2 separate regions of the Homo sapiens genome follow, and region 2 is linked to region 1. The links are contacts of gene promoters, found by promoter capture Hi-C in blood cells and fetal thymus (Javierre and others, 2016). All regions are on one chromosome and are shown on one strand. The core of a region is centred on a gene start or on the middle of the fragment in contact, and the rest is flanking DNA. Distances in the headings are between cores, read along the strand shown.

Region 1 (3,256 bases), core at 560-3,059:
TAGAGGGTGAACACCACCAGCAGTAGGAAATTTGAAAGTGAAGAACTTTTTTTTCAACAAGATATTTCCTACTGGTCTGGGTGAAAGCTCAGAGTCATAATTTATAGAAGTTTATAACTAATTATAAAGACCTGTCTTTATCGTTGCTGCTAATAGCCACTGGAACCAGAGCCTTCTTGCTAAATGCAACACTGCACTACCAGGATGTCTGCAACAGGGGAAAAGCAGGCCAGCTTCACAGTCTTCCCTGCAAATCAAATACTCAGGACCCTTCCATAACTCTGAATCATTTTTGTATTAATATGAGCATCCAAAGAGGCAGTGGTTAAGTGCTTAGATGCTGGACTAAGGGTTTAAATGCTGACAATTCACAGCCATGTGACCTTAGGCAATGCCTCTAATATCTCTAAGCATCAGTTTCCTCATCTATAAAAGGTGGATAGTAATAATAATTGCCCCATAGGATTGTTTGAAGAATTAAATGATATAATACATGTAAAGTGCGTTAGCACAGTGCTTTAAAAATGTTAACATTTTAAAATATGGCCCTTAAAGATGTTAACAATTATTGCCCAAGTGCTACATGATAAAAGGATACAGCAAAATCATTTCCACGAATGAAAAACTACATTTAAAAAAAGAAATTGCAAAAGAGAGAATGACGTTTGTTCAGTGTTTCTATACATAAGTTTTTTTTTATTATTATACTTTAAGTTCTAGGGTACATGTGCACAATGTACAGGTTTGATACATAGGTATACATGTGCCATGTTGGTTTGCTGCACCCATCAACTCGTCATTTACATTACGTACTTCTCCTTTTAAAAGGTGGGTGGTGGTACTTGCCTTTATGAAAACAGATAATTTTTATTAAGCATTTTATTGAATATCAGCTATGCCAAATCAACATCAACAACCAGAATCCCATAGATTAAGAAACCAGGATAAATATAATAAATGGTGCTTGCTTTTCAACCAAATTAAAGTATAATTATTATAAATCAGGGTGGGACGTAAGATCTGTTGTGTTACTTGTGGGAATGGATCACAAAAGGCATTATGTATACACTCCATGATTTTAAAGTATGTTAAATATTGTTACACATACGTTTTTATTTATTGAGGCCCTGTTGCCTGGAAGTGCCCAGATATAAACTGTATGACTCTGGCCCGGTCACCGCCTGCCTAGACAAAGCCCCTTAGTCTACCACTCTCATTCAACAAATATTACTGGGCTTCTTATTAAGCACCACGCACTTGGCTAAGTGCGACAGTACATAAATAAAAGACAACCGCTCCGGACCCCTGACAGCATGCACAGGGCACTCATCGTCTCTCTACCCCATCCGAGGACACACAGGCGGACGACGGCAGGAAGGGTCCCTGGGGAGCCGCTGGGGACACCTCACCTCCCGCTCGGACAGCGGCTCCCCCACCCACGGCAGTGCCCGCTCCTCCACGGTCCCGGCCAGGGCAGGGCGCAGCAGCATCCTCACCCCGCCCGGCCACCCTCCCACTTCGCCCCGCAGCCAGCGTCTCCATGGTAACCGTACACAAACTACCTCCCGCCGCCGCCCCGGCAGCCAGACCGCAGGGCCAGGCCGCTGCAGGGCGGGAGAGGCGGGCCGGGGAATGAGCTTGGCGAGGGCTCAGGGAAGGAGGCTTCCGACCTGACCCAAAGCACCTGTGATGAGCACTGGAGATAGCAGCGGCTGCGAGGTTCAATTCATCCTCCGGCTCTCCCCGGGTAGCGGCCAGGGATGCAGCGCTGGCGCGGGCGGGGTAACCCCACGACGCCGCTCGGCCACTGGGCCTGCGCGGGTCCCGCCAACGCATGCGTAGAAGCTCCGAGGCGTGGCGACGGCCGGAGCGGGTGGGAGGAGCCTGGAGAGGGCTGTAGGCCGGGAGGTCAGATCAGAGCAGGCGTCGTGGGCGGGTGTCCGCTTTTCGTTTAGCAATTTGCCGAACCACATTTGTTGCTCCCCTGCCGGATCCCAGCACCTCTGTTAAATAACAGCAGGCAGGACGGAAGCTTAATGCTTGTGGGTAAGAAGGATTTACTGGCTCAGGTTAGGGCTCTGTATAACCTGGAGCCACTTGCTGAGCTTCTGTTTCCTCCGATGTCAAGTGGCAGGAAATATTAATAATAGTACCTAGGTAGGTCTTGGGCTGTTATGAAGACTGCATGAGAAAATAGATGTAAAGCGCTATGCACGTGGCAATCAACGAATATTAAACTGTTGGCTGTTATTAAGCCCTTGCATTTGTACAGCCCTTCAGTTCGCAGAGTGTATGCACGTAATCGTACCTTCTGAGTCTGAGGTAGGCAGCCTGGCGTCCCCATCCACAGGAGAGGAACTGGGGGCCTGAGGTGTAGTGAGCAGGAGAAGGAGATTCCAGTCTAGGTCTCCCGTGGCCAATCGTTTTTTGTTCGTGCATCATCACAGTTGAACGGCAAAAAGCACTCCATTTATGTGTTTCTAGTTTAAATTCCCTTTTCTCCTGTTAGACCATTTAGCAACACTGTACAGTGTTAAATAAAAGTGAGATCATAAGCACTCTCCATTCAGGTTTGCACCACGTTTTATAAATATGGAGATTTTCCAGCTGAAGTGCTATTTGTCATCAACACTGGGAAAATGCCACTTCCCTTGGTGCTAAGCATCTTGTAAAGAATAATTAAATTGAAAATATTTTTGAGCACATACTATGTGTAAGGCATCGTGCCAGGTGGGAAATTATACTAACCTGAACTAAAGGAATGTAAATATTCTTCAAAATACTCAAGAGGATTTCAAACATAACAGAAAATAAATACCTATTCGTTGATTGGATAATTTTAGGACCCGAAACAGCCCTGGATTTTTCTGCTCATTCTTAGATAACTGACAGTCTTGTTGTAACTAAATCTCAACCACAGCTTCATTTCAAAACTATAATGTTGGGTGCAAGATATAAACAAATGCATCAAACTTCAAAAAGTCTTCCTCCCCCATTCCAGCCCCAGGCTTAAGGTCTCTAGCTGGCCTTCCCTGAAGGGGTGCACTAGGCTTAGGCTTGTCCCCGACCCCCACCCGCCCCTCTATTCACTAGAGGTTGTTTAAGGCCCAGCTTGGATCAAACTGGCAGTGAGGAGGAGGAGGAGAAGGAAGGAGATGGAGCATTTCTTCCTGGAGTTGAGCAGCTTCAAGCTTGCTGTGCTGGCTTATGGTTAAAGCAGCTCATGTAGGTCTTTCCTGGTCCTTTGTAGTCTCCC
Region 2 (3,256 bases), core at 401-2,900, 280 kb after region 1:
TCTTAACCACATCTGATTGTTCATTTCTACTTTAATGCCCGAGGTAAGGGAACCTGTGAGATAGTCATCATCCTTCTCCCTGACACAGTATCTGACAAATGTAAGTAACCAAGGGCTTCCTCTTTTTGTTAAAATGCTATCCTTCTTACCTCTTTTATCACTTCATAGTTCCTAAGTACCCCTACTGACAGGCACTGGACAGCTATGCAAACATGATACACTCACTCAGCCTCCATCTACATTTGCCCATCCTTTTGATGCTGAAATAATAAGCAAGATGTTTTTAGATTGAGAGGCAAATAAGCCTTTCAGGAAAGCAAGCGCTACTTATGTGAGACTATCCATTACCTAGCAAATGACCTTTTAAAAAAGATCAATTTAAAGAAGAAAATGGAAAACAAAAACCTCTAGAACTGTGGCTACTAATTACCTCTCTACTAACTAGCTGTGTGATCTTAAGAAAGTCATTAGCTTTTCCAAAAATCAGGTTTTTCACCAGTAAAATAAGAGGGTTGAACTAGATCAGAAAACTTCATCCTAACTATACATTAGAATCACCTAAGAAACTTGAAAAAAAAAAACAAAACACAAAACCATCAATGCTAAGCCACACACAAGCCAAATTATATCAAATTCTCTGGGTATTTGTATTTTTCAGAAGTTCCCAGGTAATTCAAACATGCAACCAGGGCTGAGAACCACTGATTTAGATTCTGATCTCTAAGTCCTCTTTTCTAATTCTTTCATTTTATGATGTTAGGGTGATAATTTTGGTTACAAGGTCTCATAATGCAATGGCCCAAATAGCCTGAAAAGAAGTAAGGCCCTGCATACCGTGCCCTTTATGCACACATGACTAGGAGACGTTAACCTGAATTCTAGACATTTTTGGAAGTTAAAAATCCTCTTACATTACTCAGAATGAAAGTAGTGTGGTTTAAATGCACATGCGTGCTTCCAAAATGACTAATCATGACAAGAATCAACTCCTAAACTTGGACACTTGGAAATGGGTCACAATTAGCTCCTGATCTCTCCCTTTTCCCTCTTCTTCCACTAAACCACAAGCACACACAAAAAAAGGTTGCCTATTAGTCATAATCAAAATATAAAACCAGCTCCAGTTTCAAAGGGCCTTCTCCATCATCAAAGATTTGAAAGTTCCTGCATGGCTGCATCTTTTGATGAAGATCATCTTATAAAAACTCTAACAAAATTATATCCCTTTAGTCGTCAAGGATTAGTTGTCATGTGACACTCAGAAATGGAATTGGTAAAAAATTTTAAGGTAAAAGAATCATAAAATGTGTGCCCTGTATTAAGCATATTAAGCCTTGAGAATTTCAATTTACAGTATTTTCTAAGATTTTAGTTGAAGAGAAATGAGATAGCAGAGAAGGGTAAAAAAAAAAAACCATAAGACAAAAAAACGATGACATAAAACCATAAAGTTTATGACTAGTCCCAAAATCTGTATTGCAAGTCCTACAAACTATATGAAAATGTATCTAGCCCAATCTCAATTCGCGGCTACTTTTGGTAATACCATTATCTCATGTAAATCTTCCCCCCAAAAATAAAGTTCATTAAACTTATTATATTTAACTATAAACAAAATAACAAGAAATATTTGTGAAATTAAATTATTTTTGTAACCTTAAAAATCACAGGAAAGGTGAAAACGCCTTCCTACGTTAACGTTTTAACTAAGTTTAAAGTTAACTAACTTTTCACTAACGTATTCTCCTCACCAAATTCAAACATGCAAGACTAAATTTCAAGTGAGAGAAATCTGAAAAACATTTCGAACCCCCAAATCCATGTTCTCAGATCCTGTCCGCTTACGCCTTCCTGATACTATACACTGATTAACCCTTCCCATCCACTTGGAAACCCAGTTTTAAAACATATCACACTAGTGCTCTTTTCAAATGGAATTGTCTAACTTTCATCCTTTCTGTAAAGAACTCTCGTATCATACACCTGGCATTCTTTTACAAAGCAATTGAATTAAACCAAATATAAGACTCATAATGTAAGCATTTGTTAAAAGAAATGAGACACATTAGTGGATTAATATCAAAGCACACGTGTTTTGCTTTTAAAGTATCTAATACAAAGCCTCTCTGATATAAGCCGTATTTAACTTTGCAAGGGTTTTCTAGAAGCAAAATAAAACATTCTCTACATTAAGTTCTTTAACTTTTTCATCTACAGGCTCGTCTCCAGTGCTTCCATTGAATTCTCCACTAAGATTAAACTGTTCTTATTTTTATACCTCCTGAAACCCAGGAAGACAGAGGGCTCCCCAATGACAATGAAGAAAGGGAAGGAGGAAGCAACTACTTCTTTTACATAAAACAAAACAAAAAAAAATCTAAGCTAAATTGCAAATATGGGCAGCTGATAAGAGATGTATATCTCCAATCGCACAGGACTCTTTGGCCTGGTACTGACACACACTGTCTTGGGGGAAGGGGCCAGGGAGGTGCCTAGGAAGAGGAAAGCAGCTGGATATCAGCAGCCCAGCAGGGGCAGAGGAGTTAATCTCTTTGGATACCCAACTGCAGGAAGTCATTACATCATAGGCCTTTCCACACCTCTCTCCCTACCACGTGTCCCGTGCCCCAAGAGGATGATAAGGAACGGTAGAGAGTCTCTCTTCGGGTTCATTTACAGGTAGAAGCCATTACGGCCCGGCCCAGCCCCCAAACCTCCTCCCAAACGCCAGAGTGAATGAAGCGCAGGCCCCGCGTCCCCCACACCAGAGCCCTTCCCTCAAACAGTGCCTGAATCCAGGCCTCGGCGGGAGCAGCGGGTGCAGCCAGTCTGGATTGAGGTGGCCAGACCGGCCGGTTCGAGGCCCCAGAACATTTCAGAAGCAGCTAGTCAGAAGCAGGTTTACTGGAGCGACATCTCCGAGAAGAAAAGGTATCAATATAGGCAAGGAAAGGAAGCCGTCCAGGAAAAGGTTTGCAACCACTGCTTTTTCTAATCGGATCGATGTGCCTGTAGGTGTTAACACCCACAAGCTGAAACTTGGACCCGAAGGTTCTCATTCAGCTAGTGACGACGCAACATGCTCCTGCGACAGACTGGAAACCACACATCCAACCCCTCCTCCAGACACTGCGTCCCAAACACCCCCACACCTCTCACTCCAGCCACAGCGCCCGCACCAGACCCCCACTACGGTAAACTCTACTCCAAAGTTGGCTGCGGACCTACCTCCTCGGTGCTGTCCGGAGAATCCAGC

Evidence for each region. Contacts are between HindIII fragments. The CHiCAGO score rates a contact against its expected background, and 5 or more counts as called.
Region 2: a fragment that was not itself captured here is called in contact with the fragment with the promoter of ARMC2 in region 1 in 16 of 17 cell types (megakaryocytes, M1 macrophages, monocytes and 13 more); the score reaches 14.0 in megakaryocytes.

Annotation. Positions count from the first base shown.
Region 1 is chr6:108,846,975-108,850,230 of GRCh38, reverse strand. It overlaps ARMC2 (armadillo repeat containing 2), which reads right to left and starts at 1,809. Exons shown (of 18, transcript NM_032131.6): 1 at 1,685-1,809. RefSeq lists a silencer at 1,452-1,551. The HindIII fragment of the contact is 2,745 bases long and covers 1-2,034 here.
Region 2 is chr6:108,562,116-108,565,371 of GRCh38, reverse strand. All of the region lies in intron 1 of FOXO3 (forkhead box O3), which reads right to left. Among named protein-coding and RNA genes, the nearest start is that of FOXO3, 2.8 kb to the right of the region's middle. RefSeq lists an enhancer at 2,372-2,666. The HindIII fragment of the contact is 3,367 bases long and covers 1-3,256 here.